Regions from separate parts of the Homo sapiens genome. Here regions 2, 3, 4, 5, 6 and 7 are each linked to region 1. The links are contacts of gene promoters, found by promoter capture Hi-C in blood cells and fetal thymus (Javierre and others, 2016). All regions are on one chromosome and are shown on one strand. Each heading gives the region's core, a stretch centred on a gene start or on the middle of the fragment in contact. The rest is flanking DNA. Distances are from core to core; before and after follow the strand shown.

Evidence for each region. Contacts are between HindIII fragments. The CHiCAGO score rates a contact against its expected background, and 5 or more counts as called.
Region 2: a fragment that was not itself captured here is called in contact with the fragment with the promoter of GCC2 in region 1 in 3 of 17 cell types (M0 macrophages, M1 macrophages and M2 macrophages); the score reaches 12.9 in M0 macrophages.
Region 3: a fragment that was not itself captured here is called in contact with the fragment with the promoter of GCC2 in region 1 in 6 of 17 cell types (neutrophils, monocytes, M2 macrophages and 3 more); the score reaches 11.6 in neutrophils.
Region 4: a contact is called between a fragment that was not itself captured here and the fragment with the promoter of GCC2 in region 1, in 2 of 17 cell types (M0 macrophages and M1 macrophages). The highest score is 8.1, in M0 macrophages.
Region 5: a contact is called between a fragment that was not itself captured here and the fragment with the promoter of GCC2 in region 1, in 1 of 17 cell types (M0 macrophages). The highest score is 5.4, in M0 macrophages.
Region 6: a fragment that was not itself captured here is called in contact with the fragment with the promoter of GCC2 in region 1 in 8 of 17 cell types (neutrophils, monocytes, total CD8 T cells and 5 more); the score reaches 14.1 in neutrophils.
Region 7: a contact is called between a fragment that was not itself captured here and the fragment with the promoter of GCC2 in region 1, in 3 of 17 cell types (M0 macrophages, M1 macrophages and M2 macrophages). The highest score is 6.1, in M0 macrophages.

The regions. Positions count from the first base shown.
Region 1 is chr2:108,447,851-108,450,616 of GRCh38, reverse strand. GCC2 (GRIP and coiled-coil domain containing 2) reads right to left here and starts at 1,411. Exons shown (of 23, transcript NM_181453.4): 1 at 1,337-1,411; 2 at 928-984. The coding sequence starts at 1,342. RefSeq lists enhancers at 1-421, 507-1,488, 1,325-1,584, 1,489-2,471. The HindIII fragment of the contact is 5,578 bases long and covers 433-2,766 here.
Region 2 is chr2:108,208,646-108,211,411 of GRCh38, reverse strand. The region is part of intron 1 of LINC01594 (long intergenic non-protein coding RNA 1594); the gene reads left to right. Among named protein-coding and RNA genes, the nearest start is that of LINC01594, 7.8 kb to the left of the region's middle. The HindIII fragment of the contact is 847 bases long and covers 1,026-1,872 here.
Region 3 is chr2:108,686,988-108,689,753 of GRCh38, reverse strand. LIMS1 (LIM zinc finger domain containing 1) reads right to left here. Exons shown (of 10, transcript NM_001193483.3): 10 at 2,508-2,766. Among named protein-coding and RNA genes, the nearest start is that of LIMS1-AS1, 9.8 kb to the right of the region's middle. The HindIII fragment of the contact is 7,259 bases long and covers 1-2,766 here.
Region 4 is chr2:108,225,055-108,227,820 of GRCh38, reverse strand. It overlaps the pseudogene SETD6P1. Among named protein-coding and RNA genes, the nearest start is that of LINC01594, 8.6 kb to the right of the region's middle. The HindIII fragment of the contact is 601 bases long and covers 1,149-1,749 here.
Region 5 is chr2:108,241,728-108,244,493 of GRCh38, reverse strand. The region is part of intron 1 of SULT1C3 (sulfotransferase family 1C member 3); the gene reads right to left. Among named protein-coding and RNA genes, the nearest start is that of SULT1C3, 3.1 kb to the right of the region's middle. The HindIII fragment of the contact is 3,149 bases long and covers 1-2,766 here.
Region 6 is chr2:108,639,256-108,642,021 of GRCh38, reverse strand. All of the region lies in intron 1 of LIMS1 (LIM zinc finger domain containing 1), which reads right to left. Among named protein-coding and RNA genes, the nearest start is that of LIMS1-AS1, 38 kb to the left of the region's middle. The HindIII fragment of the contact is 2,875 bases long and covers 1-2,766 here.
Region 7 is chr2:108,259,128-108,261,893 of GRCh38, reverse strand. SULT1C3 (sulfotransferase family 1C member 3) reads right to left here. Exons shown (of 8, transcript NM_001320878.2): 7 at 2,748-2,766; 8 at 1,008-1,326. The coding sequence ends at 1,214. Among named protein-coding and RNA genes, the nearest start is that of SULT1C3, 21 kb to the right of the region's middle. The HindIII fragment of the contact is 3,799 bases long and covers 1-2,766 here.

The DNA of each region.
Region 1 (2,766 bases), core at 162-2,661:
ACCCACCGCGCCCGGCCACATTTTTTAAAATCAGCAAATGCAACGTCAATTCTGTAATTGCTATGCAACTACTAAAAATTAGTTATGCAACTACTATGAAACGTAAAAACCAGGCCATATCCTCTTATAGCTAATGTTACAGGTTGACATTGCTAGCTTTTGATTTAATTGTAAAATCAGTAGGTTGGAGCTAATGCTACTTAAAATTCCTTGGAGCTGTAAAATTATTTCATTCTATTCAAGGCTGCAAGTCTTTGGTCACAAGAAAATTTACGCATAATTACAGCAGCAAGATGAACCGGGTAACATTCAGGCTTTAATTAAAAAATTGAGCTTTACCACTTGAGAAAATTGCTTAAGCCTGTGGTCTCAGGTTTCTCATCTGTAAAAGGAGGGTAACAACAGTACCTATCTCATGGTTATCATGAAGCTTAAACGAAGGAACTGAGTGGTTAGGCAAGCGCCAGAAATTTAGCATGCACACAATAAACCTTAGCAATAAACCACTATCATTTAGAATGATTGAATGTTAAACATTGTACAGGGCCATAAAACTGGACTAATTAAACTCTTTGGCAATGTAGAAACTGGAGCCCACAGATCAGAATCCCTTGATTCCTACCCTATGTCACTGCTCCTTCCACTACACCACTATATAAACCTTCTTAGACTGCTTTATGTTCGAAAAATAGCAGGATCTCCCAGCAGTGCTAACCAGGAGCAGGAAGCAAACAAAAAGTCTTTCTATATCGGGGTGGGCGGGGGAGAAACAGGAAATGGGCGATTGCGCACACTAAAATTGAGATCCCTTGGAGCAAGGCTATTAAAAAAAAAAAAATCAGCGCCCCCCCCTTCCCCATGCCAAAGTTTTCCAATTCATCACCCTTCCACTCTTCAGGAAGCCCGCTATTCAAGTATTCTCTTCACCTTAGATTTCCCGGTCCCAGGGGTAGCTGGTGAAGCCACCCCATCTTGAACAAGATCCTGCAAAACAAAATCAAACCCAGGTGTCAGAAGAACTCTTTTCCTAATTCCACACGGAACGCGTAGAACCCTTACAGGGAAAAACCTTCTATGGAATCAAGTGGTGGAAAGCCTCGTGAGACAGAGAATGAGGGCGGACGGAGGCGGTCGCTGTGGCAATTCGTACACAAACGGGCTCTACGGGGCAGGTAACCCCCAGGGATAGAGTTTACGAAAGATGGGGAGGCGACAGCAGCGCGGGCTTCGGGACACCAAGAGGGAGACTACCGCGCCCTCCCATCGGGCCCACTCCCACATCCCAAATCGCGGCGCGGAAGGCTTGATGGGAGGCAGTGGGCCCGACCTGAGTTACCTCCATCTCCGCCAGCCCGCCGCCGGCCCGCAACCAGCCGCCGCCACCGCTGCACTTCTGTTTGCGCCAGCCTCTGACGTAGGCTCTACTGCAGGTCAAAGGTCGCGCTCTCCGGGCGGCCCGCCCCCCACGTCTCCATAGCTACAGCTCGGCAGCACTTCCGCTTCCGTGTCTGCGTCCGGGAGAAGGTTCCCCGTACGGCGCTAAGGGCGGAGTCCGTCTAGACGTTCTACCTGGGGCTCGACCCCTGGGCCTGCAGGTCACGGAGTAGGTGTGGGTCCCGCCACTGCCGGTTATTGGCATGGGAAGGCGGGCCGATTACCCCTTGGGGCCTCGGGCCTCGGTTTCCACGTCTGTAAAATCTTGTGAGAGTGAGGAACATTGGATTGCAGGACAGGTCTCTCAGTCCTCCAAAGGTGTCCGCTAGCCTGCGAGTGCCTGCGGGACCCACAGCTGGTTCCGGGGGGCTCCTTAGGCATTTGTGGCCAGCATGGTGCCCGGGAGCTCCGTGACTCACAGGTCAGGGATGCGGTAGAGGGCTTCCCTGAGGAGGCATTTCTTGACTCTGGAGGCTGTGAGGAGGTCCCTGGACAGCTCTGCCCTGCAGCCGCCCGGTACTGATGGTGATGTGGTGGAGGCAAGATAGTCGGCCAGGGAACTGGGCAGCCGTGGGAGGAGACTCTGTAGAGTAGGGGGCCCGAGGCCACCCTTTCCCGAAGGGCACGCCAGAGAATCTGTGGTCGAATCCCAGAGCTGCTGCTGTGTCCTGATTGGCGGTCCAGTGCTCTGAGAGCCTTTCTGTTAACTGCTGAAGTGGTTTGCTGCGCTTTCACCTTCCCATTAATGTTTTCCATACACTCCCATAACTAAGGTAACCTGAAGATAACCTAGTTTCCTGTAGTTTAAATGGTCAAAAGGTTGAAGAGGCAGCACACAGTATGTATCGAGTAAATGGTAGCTGATTATTACTAGGTAAAAGAAGTGTTATAAACGAGAAAGAACAGCTATTGTGGACATCTACTCTTTGTCTTTGACAGTGTGTATCACCTATGGTGTTTGTAGGATTGGTTCAGGGGTGGTGTGTGACCTAAGATGTACAGTCTCCACGTACAGTAACACACGTGTGTGTGTACACGTGTGTGTGTACACGTGTGTGTGTGCACGTGTGTGTGTGCACGTGTGCGCGCACGTGTGTGTGCACGTGTGTGTACACACATATATGCACACACATGTATACACACACACACACACAATCCCCAAGTATACATTGTTATTAATGGTCCAGATTAATGCCATTCAAAGTAGTTCCCCAAGTTAAGAGCAACTTACGGTAGACTCCTATTTCAATTAATAACTTGAAAAAATCACTTGCAATAAAATAGCAGGTTAACTAGATACTACACACATTCCAATCCTGTAAAAGTTTCTCA
Region 2 (2,766 bases), core at 200-2,699, 240 kb after region 1:
AGCATAGTACTAAAAGTTCCAGCCAGAAAAATTAAGCAAGAAAAACAAAGAAAGTCATGCAAATAGAAAAGGAGGAAGTGAGATGTTCTGTTTGCTAATGATATGATCTTATATAGAGAAAATTCTAAAGACTCCTCCCAAAATCTCTTAGAATTGCCAAAGAAATTCAGTGAAGTTGCAGAAAACAAATTCACCTTACAAAAACCAGTTGCATTTCTGCACACTAACAATGAACTATCTTTTTAAAAAATAAAAAAATAAACCAATTTACAATAGCACCAAATATAAAATAAAATACTTAGGAATAAATTTAACCAAGAATGTGAAAGATCTATATACTGAAAATGGTAAAACATTGATGAAAGAAATTGAAGATGACACAAATAAACTGAAAGATTTTCTGTGTTAATGTATTGAAAGAATATTTTTAAAATATCTGTACTACCCAAAGCCATTCATAGACTCTATGCAATCTCAATCAAAGTCTCAAGGTCATTCTTCACAGAAATAGAAAGAGAAGTTATAAAATTCACATGAAACCACAAAAGGCCACGCCAAAGCCATCTTGAGCAAAAAGAACAAAGCTAGAGGCATCACACCACCAGATTCCAAAACACTTTACAAAGCTATAGTCGTCAAAACAGCATGGTGCTGGCATAAAACAGATACATCATCCAATGAACTAGGATAGAGAGTTCAGAAATAAACACCCACAATTACAGTCTATTAATTTTTGAAAAAAGTGCCAGTAACACACAATGGGAAAAGAACAGTCTCTTCAATAAATGGTGTTGGGAAAATTGGATATCCACATGCAGAAGAATAAAAGTAAACGATTTTCTTACCCCTTATACAGGAATCAACTCAAAATGGGCTAAAGACTTAAAATATATGAGCTGAAACTGTAAAACTACTAGAGGAGAACATAAACATAGTGGTAAAGCTCCATGGCATAAGTCTGGAGCTATGTGAAATCACTGTGATGGACAAAAACAGACAAATGTCACTGCATTGATCTGAAAGCTTTCTAAACATCAAAGGAAACAATTAACAGAATGAAAAGACAACCCACAACCTGGGAGAAAACATTTGCAAATCATAGATTGGATTAGAGGCTAATATTTAAAATACACAAGGAACTCATACAACTGAATAACAAAAAAAAGAAATAACCCTAATTAAAAATGGACAAAGGTTCTAAATAGTAATTTCTCAAAAGAATACATAGAAATGGACTACAGATATAGGAAAAAGTGCTGAACCTCTCCAATCATCAGAGAAATGCAAATTAAATCCACAATAAAATATCATCTCACACATGTTAGATCATCTCTTATCAAAAAGACAACAAATAACAAGTGTGGGGAAGGTATAGAAAAAAGAGAACCCTTGTACAACATCAGTGGCATTGTAAATTAGTACAGCCACTTTGGAAAACAATATGAAGCCTCTTCAAAAAACTAAAAATACAATCACTAATGATCCACAGATAACCAAAAGGCCAGGGGTCCAGTGTAGGTCCTGCAGCTCACCACAAAGAAAGCCAATGATTAGGACAATGAGTAGTGCCAGGAAGAAGGAAGAAGGATTTAACGGGGTGCTGCAACCAAGGAGGTGGGATATCAGTCTCAAATCAATTTCCCTGACCAACTACAATGAGGGGGTTATAGAGCAGGGAACACATGTAACAATATGTAAGAAAACAGGAACTAGAGAGGGGCAAGAAAACAATCATGATGAATAAGGAAGCCTGCACTGCATTGTCTGGATGTGGTGATGGATGAGTTTCAATTCTTTGATACTTTTGTTTAGAGGCCTGATGGTCATTTCCTGGGGAAGGAATGCAGAAAAAATGAATGTAAGTTTCAAGCTTTAAGACCAGAAAGGTCAATTTCTATATTTATTCAAAAAGTTGCCTATGGGACTATTGGGTGGGTTTCACAGCTCTGCCACTACTGGGTATACATCCAAAGAAATGAAATCAGTGCGTTGAAGAGATAGCTACACTCCCATATTGATTGCAGCATTAGTCACAAGAGCCACAATATGGAAACAACTGTAGTGCCTATCTGTGGGTGAATGTATACAAATATTTGGTGTGTATACACAATAGAGTACTATGTAGCCTTTAAAAACATGAAATTGGGGGTGGAGCCAAGATGGTCGAATAGGAATAGCTCCAATCTACAGCTCCCAGCATGAGTGACGCAGAAGACGAGTGATTTCTGCATTTCCAACTGAGGTACCGGGTTCATCTCACTGGGGAGTGTCAGACAGTGGGTGCAGTGCACCGAGCGTGAGCCAAAGCAGGGTGAGGCATTGCCTCACCTGGGCAGCACAAGGGGTCAGGGAATTCCCTTTCCTAGTCAAAGAAAGGGGTGACAGATGGCACCTGGAAAATTGGGTCACTCCCACCCTAATACTGCGCTTTCCAACGGTCTTAGCAAATGGCACACCAGGAGATTATATCCCGCACCTGGCTCAGAGGGTCTTACACCCACGGAGCCTTGCTCATTGCTAGCACAGCAGTCTGAGATCAAACTGCAAGGTGGCAGCGAGGCTGGGGGAGGGGTGCCTGCCATTGCCAAGGCTTGAGTAGGTAAACAAAGTGGCCGGGAAGCTCAAACTGGATGGAGCCCACTGCAGCTCAGGGAGGCCTGCCTGCCTCTGTAGACTCCACCTCTGGGGGCAGGAAATAGCCAAACAAAAGGAAGCAGAAATCTCTGCAGACTTAAATGTCCCTGTCTGACAGCTTTGAAGAGAGTA
Region 3 (2,766 bases), core at 100-2,599, 240 kb before region 1:
GGGCTGAGGTATGAGAGAACAGGGAAAAGAAAAATGGGGAGGAACGAACTTCTGGATTCCCTCGGAATGTTAGGAGACCCTTTTCCCGTTACTTGAGCCAGAAATAGAGGGCATCTTCTGGAGCTCTTTCTATCTGCACCCTGGTGCCCACTGCCAGGTTAGTCACGGGATGCCGTAGGGGAAACATGGTTATCTCACCACTGGTTTGGTGGTACTTCAAGTTCTGGTCTTCTTGGGAAAGCTGCCTGCAACTATTTAGTTTTCACTGTCTTCCAATAGCTGCTCCATGCATTCTGTACTGTCTCCTGGCTGGACTCCATGCAGGAAGCCTGTCTCCTCCACAGTGTGCACTCACTCAGGTCATTGTTCAGTTTTATTGTTGGCATTTGTTTGCTTTAATTTTTCAGAATGGCTTCTTAGAGGTCGCTTCTTGTTTGCATAGTTTGTCAAACATCAGTTAAAGCCAATATGGTTTCCACCATCTGCTGCTGGATCTATGTGCAATGGGGAGGAGGCACGCCCCGGGCCATTTGCAAGGGTGTTCCGGCTTTTACTTCCTAACACTGGCACCGGCACACACACAGGCTGTGTGCCCTGGGCATATGGACATGGCTTGGGCTTGCTCTAATCTCTGCCAGCTATGAGCCTTCAGTCCATTTGGGTAGTGTGAAGAGTTTACTAAGCTCCCTCTGGCTCTCCGACCTCCCGGAGCTCCCTCTTACATCCATGACTAATCTGCAGGTCATTTGCTCGTCTCCAAAGGCCCAGAGCCTCAGGCTAGGAGTCAGTGGCCTTTCTTCCTCCTGGTCACTGATATCACCACCTTAACTAGCCATGCTGCAAATCAAAACCTTCCTCACTCTTGCCTCCAGCCCCTGCAACGAGGTGGCAGGGGAGCTTATCTCCACAGGCTGCCCTGCTGGGGGCCGCTGTGTGTGTTATCAACAGCTGGGGTAAATGGGGGTAGCAGCCTGGGCAAAGATGCCACAGACACAGGCTGGTCTTATCCAAGGCTCACTTTAATTCTTCTTTTTTTTCTTTAGGGACAGGGTCTGTCTCACTCTGTTGCCCAGGTTGGAGTGCAGTGGTGTGATCACAGCTCACTGCAGCCTCAATCTCCTGGGCTCAAATGATTCTCCCGCCTTAGCCTCCCATGTAGCTGGGACCACAAGTGTGCACCACCATGCCTTTTTTGATTTTTTTTTTGTACAGACGGGGGTCTCACCAAGTTGCCCAGGCTGTTTTTGAACTCCTGAGCTCAAGTGGTCCTTCTGCTTCAGCCTCCCAAAGTGCTGGGATTACAGGCGTGAGCCACCGCGCCTGGCCAGCTTTCATTCTTAAACACATCCCCATTTGTGCGGTGCCTTTGGTAAAATTACAGAATGCTAAATGGTTTGTCCAGCTATACAGTTACATTTTGGAAAGATTTGTTGACCTCCTCACTTCATCATGCTAGAAGTGGGAACTTTGATTCTCTTTAAAGAATCTGAAGATGAAGGGAAGACCAAAGCATAATTTGAGAGAATGGCAAGACTGAGAAAGGTTTCTGTAGCATGGTGCATGCATGTGTGTGTGCGTGTGTAGGGAGAGGCAAAGGGTTCTGACAAGAGGAAGAGGCTGAGGAAGCAGGCTCATCTCCACAACGTGCTGCTGCCACCCAATCATAGGGTCTCTTGCAGCAATTCCAGTCCTGATCTCACAAACCTCATACCCTAACTACGGTCCCCCTAATTGGGGTCCCTCCTCAGAGCTTTCCTAAGGCTCCCTAACTTTTCCCCTCACCTCGGTTGAGGCCTCCATGGTTTGGACTTGCTGGTTTTGCCTTGCTCTTCCCTTGATAAATACACCATTTATTCCGGTTCAGCCCTTGGAACTTTAAACCTTAACCCAAGCCTCCTCCACCCCACTATATTAGCCCAAGCCTAGAGTATCAGATCTGGATATTTGGGTAAAGATGCAGACAAATTTTGAGTTGAAAAAGAAAGAACTTAATTGCACCATTGCACTCCAGCTGAGGGCAGGGCACAGTGGCTCATTGCCTGTAATCCCAGCACACCATTGCACTGCAACCTCTGCCCCCTGGATTCAAGTGATTCTACTGCCTCAGCCTCCCAAGTAGCTGGGACTACAGGTGCACACCACCACGCCCTATTAATTTTTGTATTTTTAATAGAGATGAGGTTTCACTGTGTTGGCCAGGCTGGTCTCAAACTCCTGACCTCAAGTGATCCACTGGCCTCGGCCTCCCAAAGTGCTGGGATTACAGGTGTGAGCCACTGTGCCTGGACTGTATCTCCTTCTTAATAATAATAATAATTAAAAAACCCAGCATTTACATTGAGTAGAGGGAAGACTACACCATTGTTCTAGATGGTTCAAAATTTGGCTTATCTATAGTAACCAGGTCATTTTATTCATTTACTTGTTTCTATTATATATTCATGAATACTTCAATTTTCATATGTATTTCACATATATACCATTCAAAATAAACAATATACAACAGGTTATTGTTAACAATTATAAACATTTATTAAGCACCAAGAATATACTGTGGTGGTTGCTATATGAAAACATAATTACCAATATAGTATCCCTGCCATTGAGCTTACAATCTAAAACGAAATACAAGGCTATGAGCCTATCTAAAAACTTCCTTAACTTAGAAATGGCTACTTTGGCAAATGAGTGAGGCAAAATGACCTATTATTCAGGTGCAGTGCTAATAAGGCTTTGAATATCATCCAAAGAATGTTTTACTTGTAC
Region 4 (2,766 bases), core at 200-2,699, 220 kb after region 1:
TAGTTGTATTTACTGTCAAGGAAGCACAGACACATCTCCGGATTTTCTTAATAAAGAAAATACTTTATTAAGAGCAGTTGGTGCAACAGAGAAATGCTCAGGGTCCATGCCAGAACATTTCTTGGAATAGGTGGTCAAGCAAAGCTTTTACATGCAAAGACATGAGATCGATGACTGTGGGAAGAGAAAAACTAAAAAATGCTGAGCGGTCTTGATACTTAAGGAACTGTGTCAAATGTTGCAATAACAGGAAGGTAGGGAATGTTCATTTTCATTTAAGTACATGGGCAGAGGTTTGTCCCTGAGATAGAGCAAAAAAAGTTATAATGAGGGAAGTTCATATAAAACTGAGGGCCAGCCATCACAGTATATCCAGCCTCAAGTTATGTCAAATGTAGTTTGATCAGCTTTGTCAGTCTCTCCTCTGTTTTAATACAGGCTCAGATAAACTGTCCCTGAGCAACTCAGGGATAAGGGAAATTAGAAGTTGTAGATGGCTGAGTGCAATAGTCTTCAGGGCCAGAGTTTCCTGAGCATTGTCCCTGGAAAACCAGTGGAAACGTCTGTTGAGCACGCTAGCAATGGTGAGCTGTTTTATGTCCCTAAGATGAGGCATTTTAAAAGTGGAATGCCTAAAGTGAAAAACATAAATATAGCATAAAATGTTGTATTAAACAGCCAAGAGTTGAACCCCAAGGGTATCCAGTCTATCAGATCCCAGGAGGTCTTTGGATGGAAATCTCTGGATTATACACATTGCTTGTTGAGTTTCTTGACGTGAAGAGTCAATGCTCTGGGGGATGTTGTCCACAGTATGGTTTCCTTTTTTTTAAAAAAGCAAGTGTTTCACCAGACAGTCCTAGGAGCTCACACAGTGGATTGTCTGTGGGTGAATCCAGCAGTCTTAAGTGGTTTTCAGTTTTTCCAGGTTCAGTAAGTTGTCAGGCTTCAAATCTTGGGACTTCTTCAGATCCTGGGGAAAAGGCCAGCTTCGGGGTATCCTAGAGCCTTGATAGAGATCTGTGCAGTCAAGCTGTGGTTCTCAGTAATGCTGAGTCAGAAGTGAGAGAGAAAAATTAAAATATTGGTCTGGAGGGTCGGAAACAGATATTGAAGGAAACTGGAAGTCCTGAAAACTTGGTGAAGCTTGACAGTGTGTACAAGGTGACAGGAAATAACACTGTCTTTTGTTTTCACAGTGGGAGAAATCAAGACAGTTTGCTTATCCATCAATTATTACAGTTTTTAAACATATTCAAAGTAGCATAAAGATAATGAATATGATCAGAATCTGATATCCCTGAAGGATGTTGTGGGTTGAATTGTGTGCCCCAAGAGACATGTTCAAATCCTAACCTCTGGTGACTGTAAACATCATCCTATTTAGAAGTAGTGTCTGTATTAGTCTGCACTAAAATACAATATTCTGGTGTGTTCAAACAACAGAAATGTGCTTCTTATAGTTCTTGAGGAAGGGAAGTCCAAGCCACATTAAAGGTACTGTGCCTACCTGCTAAGGAGTTCAGAAAGTTCAAAAAGCAGTATGGATAAGGAGATGATAAAAGGGAAGAGGGCAGCCCAAAGATCATCTATATCCCCAAGCTGATAGCATAATGAAGATACCTACTTTGTGACAATGTTTTATTGATTCTGCAAACTTATCTCACAGACCTAAAAAAAAAACCTGAGCAATATTTATTCAGTAATTAGGAGGTCTATGCCCCACTGAGTCAGAGAAAGCAGCAAGCTTGATAGGTTTGCTATGGTCAGAAGATGATCTTGCATCAGTTATTGGAACTGACTAGTTAGCAGGTTCCCTTTTGCCTGAAGGAACGCTAATAAGAACACAATTCTAAGCTGATATTCATCGATGTTTGAAAAGAAGGAAAATTTGAATCCAAGTCCAAGTTAGGAAACCCGAAATCATCAGTGTTTTGTTAATCCTCGTGAGGGCTTTTCTCCTGGCTTACAGATGTTCACCTTCGTGCTGTGTCCTCACGTGGCCTTTCCTTGGTGTGTGCTTGTGAAGAGAGAGCACAGGCTCTCTAGTGTCTTTTCTTAGATGGGCACTAATCCCATTAGACCAAGGGCCAATGTTATGACCCCTTTTACCCTTAATCACTTTCTTCCTCCAAATGTAGCTCCACTGGTATTTAGAGCTTCAAAGTATGAATTTGGTGGGGGGACATGATTTAGTTTACAATTGGGTCTTTGCGGGATGTAATCAAGTTAAATGGGACCATATGAATTAGAATGGGCCATAATTCAATGATTAGTGTCCTTAAAATAAGAGGATATTTGGACACAAATGCACAGAAGGTCAAACAGGGTACACACACACATACACACACACACATACACACACACACAGGGCAGAAGGCCCTATGATGATGGGTGGAGATGAGAGTGATACGTCTCACAAGTCAAACTAGCCAAGGGTTACTGACCACCATGTGAAGCTAGAAGAGGTGCTGAAACATTCTTCCTAAGTCTCAGGGGGACCACAGACCTGCTGACACAATTCCAGATTTCTAGCCCTCAGAGCTGCCAGGGAATAAATTTAAGCCACTCACTTTGTAGTACTTGTTACAGCATCCCTAGGAAATGAATGCAAATTTGTTAGAGTCTTCTATTAAAAGACAACATTTATCCCTACAGTCACCCCCATACCTCCTTTTGATCAAAGGCAATCTCAAAGAAATATCATTCTTGACCATGAACTACTAACCCATGGTGGGTCTCATTAGATGTGGCCTCAGTATTTCA
Region 5 (2,766 bases), core at 160-2,659, 210 kb after region 1:
GGAAGGCAAAAATATAGGCAAAACACCATTCCCAATAGGAAGAGAGGCGATACCTCATAACAACTGTAATTGGAACTCCTTTCTGTAGTATTTTTTCTTCTTTTATGGTTTATAATGGTTCTATCTCTTTTATAATGTCCCCTTAACCTGGGAAAAGTTAATTTTCCAAACTTAAAAATGCTTGGCTTAGAGTTGAGCTAGGGGGAAGGGAACCCAGAAGTGTGATATGCTGGCAAAAGGGTAAAAATTTCTTACCAGTTGGGCTTTTGGCTTCTCTCTCCCTGTGTGAGCCAGTAAAGGGGATAATAAGGATCATTGTTTATATTCTCTGTGAATTTATAATTAATGAAAAAGGATTTTTGTTGATCTTAAGCTGTAGACAATTTGGTGTGCTTTGCATGTCTTTCTGTATGGTTCTGTCAAAGAAAAGATACCTTAGGTTAGGATGCAGGCCCAGGACCCCACAAGTCTGCGGTTCAAGCCAGCCCAACATAATAGTAACAAACTTGGCCACAGGCCTCCATCTTGTTTCATGTCTGGATACATGACCTGTAACTACATGGCAATAATATACTTTACTCTCAGCCTTTTTACAATGGTGGCTGTCTTCTTGTGCTAAGTCAGTTCCTGAGTAAGGGCCAAAAAATCATATAAGCCAGTTTGTCAATCGGGTGGTGCTAGCTGATTCATCAAGGGTAGAGTTTACAAAATATCTTAAGCACTGATCTTGAAAGCAGTTTAGGGAGGGTCAAAATCTCATAGTCTCTTGCTGCATGACTCCTAAGGGATGGTTTCAAGACTTCTGGCTAGTTTTTTGGTCTTGTTCCCAGGCAAGAGGGAAGTATATCTTTTTTTTTTTTTTTGAGATAGAGTCTTGCTCTGTCACCCAGCCTGGAGTGCAGTGGCTCAATCTCAGCTCACTGCAAGCTCCACCTCCCAGGTTCACGCTGTTCTCCTGCCTCAGCCTCCCAAGTAGCTGGGACTACAGGCACCCACCACCACTCCCGGCTAATTTTTTGTATTTTTAGTAGAGACAGGGTTTCACCGTGTTAGCCAGGGTGGTCTCGATCTCCTGACCTCGTGATCCACCTGCCTCGGCCTCCTAAAGTGCTGGGATTACAGGTGTGAGCCACCGCGCCCGGCCCTGGAAACATATCTTAAGAAGGAGCTGTTACCATCTTTGTTTTAAAGTATAAACTGTAAACCAGGTTCCTCCCAAAGTTGGTGAAGCCTGTCCCCAGGGATGGGCAAGGACAGCTCGGGCGCTGGAAACAAAATGGAGCTGTTTGGGTCAGATGTCTTTCACTGTCTCAGTTACAATTTTGCAATGATAGTTTCAAAAGCTGCTTACCCTCCTTTGAAAATGCCTTGCACACTCACGGTTAAATCATAACCTAATTAAGGCTCATTGGTTTCACCTGTAAGGTTACTTTTTGTAAAATTGAAAAGTCAAAAATCTTAACTGCTTGGCATGGCTAAAGTCGAGTAAAAAGGGATTTAAAAGGATTTTCTTAAAGAGTGCTCAGCTTAATTAAAAATGGATATTCAAGTTATAGGTATATTTAAAAGTTTTTCTGGAAAAAGCCTTTTTTCCTCTCAGTCGACTGAATTATTTTTCTCTATTTTTTGTCTTACCACTCCTAATGCATGCATGAGAGGCCCAAAGATAACTTCTGGTAGCATGGGACTCCTTGGGAAAAACAGAGGAGGTGCCACAGACCCTGTTTTGGGAAAATAAAAAGCCCTCTGTTTTTCCCACGAAGCCCCCAAAATTAAAAGTAGATAGTTTCCTCTCAAAATCAAAGACTCTGTTCTGTTATGTATTGTGTTATATACTGTTTATGTTTTGGGGGTTTCACATTACTTCACATTATGAGAGAGATTTGCTGTTTAATAACCAGGTAGAAAATACACTGTAAGGGACGGCTAGGAGTAGTAATAAATCAGAGAAGCATGCTCTTGGCCACCTGAAAGGTATGAAAACATCCCCACCCTCCACTAAAAAATAAGACTTCTATGGGGGGATGGGCTAATTGCCTTCAGCTGTGTCTGCTTATTAGGCACTAAAAAATGCATGGTACCTGACCCTGCTCCTCCAAGGGCTCCACCCTAAAGCCAGTAATCCAATTAAAAAACTGGCAAATGAAAAATCTTAACAAGTGCTGAATCTTCTGTCTGTGCTGCTATATATGTTTTGTGTGTAATGTCTGCAAAAAGAGCTCTAATTGATTGGCTTAAAGAAAAATAATTGCTTAAATCAAATACGTTTTTAGTTCACATGGCTTTAAGAATTAAAAATACTCTTAAGAATTATTGGTAGAATACAAGTGTCGTCAAAATGCAAATAGGTGGTCTGAATCATATAACTTAGATACCAGGGTTGCTAAATGTTCCCAGGTTGTATATTGCCTGCTTTACAGATAAGTAAGGCCTGGGACACATGGAGTTAGATACTGAAAAGTCAAACTTTATTTGCGTTTCTGTCTGGGTCCTAGGATCCACACCTGGTATATAATTAAAATCGCTTACTAACCAGGTTTTCCAGTGATTTTTTTTTTTTTTTTTTTGAGATGGAGTCTCACTTTGTCACCCAGGCTGGAGTGCAGTGGCGCCATCTCTACTCACTCCAAGCTCCACCTCCCAGGCTCATGCCATTCTCCTGCCTCAGCCTCCTGAGTAGCTGGGACTACAGGCACCCGCCATCATGCCCAGCTTATTTTTTGTATTTTTACTAGAGGCGGAGTTTCACCATGTTAGCCAGGATGC
Region 6 (2,766 bases), core at 114-2,613, 190 kb before region 1:
TATGCCAAAATGAACTGTTTCTACTATCATCCTCTATCCTGCTCAAATGGAAAATACAATCTAATTTCCCCCAGACTACTAAAAACAAAACAATCATGACATGCAAGTAAAGATAATGAAACTGGGAAGTTCCTTCCCATTTTGTAGCTTCTAGAACAAATGCACTGGATTTTCTTTCAACAGACAGTGAGAAAACAGACAAAGTTTGGCCAGAAAAAGATACGGATTTGTAATTAATATGCCATTTTGCCTTGTCAATTTTTTTTCCTAATTTTTGAATGCACAGGCAAAAAGAAATTATTCATTACCACAGAAGCAAGACAGTGATAAAGAAATAATGTACATTTTCTCAAGCTAGTTTAAAATAAAGAAAATAGCACATTTTTTACATGTTTGTATTAGCATTGCTTATTGGGATTATTATCAAAGTAAGGCAGAGCTACCGTGGCTTTGTTACATATGCTAAAAATAACTGAAGAGTCACTAAAAGATTATCACCTAACAATAATGAAATGAACAAAACAAATTCTCTCCCTATGCACCATCAACCCCATCCCAGGGGCCCAAACCATCCCAAACACTGGAATCAAAGTCCAGAAATTACAATGAGGTTGTAATTGTGAGAAGGCTATTTGCATCTAATTGTCTTCAAGAAACTCCCTCTGAAATGAAACTTAATCTAAAGAGTTAGAGACTCTCTTCGGTGTTGCAGATAGGTTTCTAGCATCCCAAACTTTATGATATCTTAACTGTATTTATTTCCCTTAAAAGGAAAATGAGTGAAATGCCATTATGATATCAGGTTGAAATATTTCTGGAAGAAAACTAGCAGGCACCCATTTAAGTCTTAAAATCATCTAAAATACATCGTTTCAGATGGAATATCATCCAGCCACAAAAAAAGAATTAGATCCTGTCAGTGGTGGCATCATGATGAGCCCGGGGTACATTATGTTAAGTGAAATAAGTCAGGCACAGAAAGACACATGCCAGATGTTCTCACTCATATGTGAAAGCAAAAATACAATTGAACTCACAGAATTAGAACGCAGAGTTGGTTATTAGAGGGTGGGAAGGGTGGCTGGGAGGGGAGAGAGGGAGAGGTTAAGGGACTCAACATTACAGCTGAGTAACAGGAATAGTTCTTGGGTTCCTCAGCACTGTAGGGTGACTAATGTTAACAATAATTTATTGCGCATGTTCAAAAAGCTAGAAGAGGATTGTGAAAGTTCTAAACTCAAGGAAATGATAAATGTTTGAAGTGATGGATATGCTAGTTACCCCGATTTGATCCTTATGCATTACATGCATGCAGCAAAATAACACATGCACCCCATAAATATGTACAATTATTATGTATCAATAAAAAATTCCTCCTCTAGTATCTGAGGGAAAACTATCCTAGTTTTATTCCCAAAGCCCACAGGCAAAAGAGAGTGGCCACTCAGGAGCCCCAGGCAGAGGTGTACTGAGGGACAGCCCAGAGAAGGCAGGAATGGCCCCACGCTCAACCTCAGTGTCCATGGGGTTCTGCAACACAAGGCAGGTCTGAAAGCACTGTGTGGCCTCAGAGACACTGCCCACAACAGGCAGAAAGTACTGCAAATAAATAGGTCAGTTACTCAATCCTAACCAGTTTTAAGTCTTGACGACCTATGTGGTGGCTTGTTTCTTAAGAAGCACCTCTCCCTGGATGATCTCTAGAAAAGTTGCTAACATGAACCAACCAACAAATATCTACCCACAAAGGACTTTGTAAAGGACATGGAGCCTGGGGAAGGGAAAGGAGAAAGACTGAAATCAAGCTCCTCCCAGCACTCTCTCCTTTCTCCATGACACTCCCTGAGTGCCTCAGACACTCTTGTGACGCTCTTACTCCCTGCAACAAGCCATCCTGTCCCTATGATAATGGAGACACTCCCATCACACAGGAAACCCATCATGGAAAGACACGAGACTGGATGGGAAAACAGAATGGGCAGCAAAAAGGTGCAATCATTAAAAGCAGAACACTAACAAATGACTGAACAATGGCAAGCCTCAGTTTCTGTGAGCCCGTGCGCATGGATGTGTAAGTGCTTTGGGATGGGATCACTGAACTGTACTGTTTTGGTTTGGTAAGTTGAATTTGTCAACTTTTATCAGCCCAACAGCAATATAGCTTATTGCAGAAAATGTATGAAAGGCAGAGAAGAATCACGCATATTCCTGCCAACTGGAAACAAGTACTTTAACATTTTGAGCTCTATTCTTTTTAAAATACATGTACACGGCTGGGCACGGTGACTCACGTCTGTAATCCCAGCACTTTGGGAGGCCAAAGTGGGTGAATCATGAGGTTAGGAGTTCAAGATCAGCCTGACCAACATGGTGAAACCCTGTCTCTACTAAAAATACAAAAATTAGCCGGGTGTGGTGGCAGGTGCCTGTAATCCCAGCTACTCAGGAGGCTGAAGCAGGAGAATCACTTGAACCCGGGAGGTGGAGGTTGCAATGAGCTGAGATGGCGCAACTGCGCTCCAGCCTGGGCGATAGAGCGAGACTTAGTCTCAAAAAAACAAAACAAAAACATGTACACATATATGATATATGATCTTAAATAAATGCAGGGTTGTTGCAAGGTGACTTTAGAATTATCTTTAAAAGTGATGATCAACATTTCCAGCACTGGGTGAAACATACAAAGGACATACGATTTTCTGGATGAATACCACTGTCCCTTTTTTTTCTCCTGAACTTTCTGCTTATCAGAAACCTGCCCAGTCC
Region 7 (2,766 bases), core at 99-2,598, 190 kb after region 1:
CCTTTGAGTTTGTCTTCCATCCAGTTGACTAGAGAATAGGATGTCATTTCCCCTTTGCCTGGCGTAACAATAGCACTGCCTTGTCACTACGATAAGGTAGAGACAATGATCACAACCACAGGGAGGTTACTTTGCTCTGTGTACTGGGAGCTATGTATATTGTTCCTGATTCCCTTTCAAGATGTTAATTGAATACCTTTTTACACTTCTTTAATTTTATTTCTGAGTTTAAGTCTTTCCAAATTTCCCCCCTTTCTTACATGTTACATGCTGTCATCTCTGAGGCCATCAGCCCTGTTGGCATCCACCTACTCCCTAAGGCCCCTCAGGACCTTCTCTTCTAATAAGACAATTGTACTTGGTCATATAAAAAACCAGGTCTTCACTGGTGCATGGTTGAAGCACTAAATTTATATTAAATCTGAGGTCATACCTATTGTTAGAGTGATGCAACAGAGACTCTTTATTAAGAGAATGGCAATGCATAGTTATTAAGAGAATGGCAATGCATAGTCATGGTGCATTTGTCCCAGATCTCAATTTATAGATTAGATACATTAAGCATTTTATTTATATCGTGGGAAGATTTTTTACAGGAGTACTCACTGACTAATTTCTCCAACTCAAACTCTTTCGATTGAGAAAATTAGTTACAAGCCAAAAGTAGAGCAGTAATCATTTTGCAATTGATTGATATTTTGCAGTAGTAATTTATTTTTATATCATTCTATTACAGAAATGGTGACTCTGAAATGTACTTATCAGCTCTTTTCTCTTGGAAGTTATTATTTATACATAAAAGTATAGAATGTACACTTCAAGCTGTTACATTCTCTCTTAACAATGGGGCTTGTAATACCTATGCATAATTTTCTTGTGAAATCTACTTGGGATCACACATGGGAATCCATGATGCAATTGTTTGTTTTTGCTCTGTCTGTCATGCACAATAAAACATACCTGTACTTAAAAAACAAACAAACAAAAAAACTCATGTAGGCGGACTCTGCTCTCTAATTCTCTTATTTTATTTACTGGAGTAACTGGTTTGTTGATATTTTAAATCATGTTTTAATATTATAGCAAACTAGCCACACTATAGGAGATGGACTGAAGCTCATAAGCTCCACATTCAGTCACAGTTCCTTGCTCAACAGAATAAAAGGCGAAATAGTTGGCATAGTCTCTGTCACCTAGTTTGTTGTTGTTCCTCTCAGATCTCCAGGCAGAAGTTCAGTGTGGACCCTGCCATCTTCTTTTCATAATGCTTATCAAAGTTCTCATTCAAAGCCACAGTAAAGTGGTTCTTCCAGTCTCCAGGCATCCCTGTAGGACATCAAAGAAGTTCATGACAGACTCTGCACCCATTCCACCTAACCTTTCTATAGTGAATGGTTCCTAGGCCTACCCACGTGATTTTCCCATGAGTGAGGGTCCCTCAGTCCCACTCCCTCTGGTCTTTCCACTATGAATGGTCCCTCATTTCCACTCCACTTGGCTTTCTTACCACAAGGCACACAGCATCCTTATACTCCTTCCTCAAATGCTGCAGGCCCCACTGAGGTGCCCCACTGTGCTGAATCTTCTGCTCCAGGGTACACTCCTGGCTCTAGTGTACCCAACCCAAAGTCTACAGCTGGTTACCATCATGGACTTCCTGGGGGACAGCCTATCTTATTCTCCCAGGGACAGTGAAAGACGTTACAAGATGTCAGTAACCTCATTGTAGAAGATATTACTTGTTGGGTAAAATTAAATAGTAAATCCACTGGAAATGACATTTGGATACTAGGGATCTTCTGCAAACTGTTGTACCTTGTCAGCCCAACAAATGCTGTACTAATGAATTGTTTCTCTAAGTTATCCTAGTACTTTATTTCTACTGGTTTCCTACCCTTTGACAAGAGGATTAATCTGAAATGCTTGCCCATAATATCAAATTCTAGATTCCAGCTTGCAACTAGTTAATTGGAATGTTCTGGAATGGGGTCACTGTTTTTAAAGGTAATTTTGATACAGCCAGGAGAACTGGTATTAGGGAATTCCTAGTATAGCTTCCACTTTACTTTCTTGTTTATAACTTTTTGCAGCTATTTTTGCATGTATCTAGAATGTTAACTTGTTGAGGACAGAAATAATGTTCATTCATCTGTACACTCACACAACAGGCCATTACTGAGTTGTTTTGAGGTATGAGTCTCTATACTAGGTTCTAGTGGAACAAAACTGAACACTACACTCTCTTCAGGACAGCCTATCATCTTATTTTGGAGACAGACATGAATATCAGTAGTTACAAATCCAAGTACTAAGTGCTTAGCTAGGGTTTTGAACTACAGGGATAGACTAAAGATGAGTGTTCAAAGCTGCTCAGAGGATGCACAAGCCTTCAAAGGGAAGTTCATGGTTGAGGTGGGTATTGTAATCAAAGTGACCAGCACCATCAGCATCACCTGAGTACTTGAGAGAAAAGCAAATTTGAGGGCTACTGCTGGATCTGTGGAATCAGTATCTCTGAGTGGGGACCAGCAATCAGAGCTTTAGCAAGGCCTGCAGGGGTTCTAATGTGACTCAAGTTTCAGAACCACTGACATTGGCTGTCTGCAAACAGGCAGGGTGAAGGGAGCAGAGATTCAAAATTTAACTGAAATGAGTCACTTCTGCCTGAAAATTAGGTTGAAAATTATTTTAGCATATAGGGTAGAAAATTTTTTAGAGTTCAGTTAAGGAAAAGAAATGCCACCAACCTTTCCTCATAAATTTTGA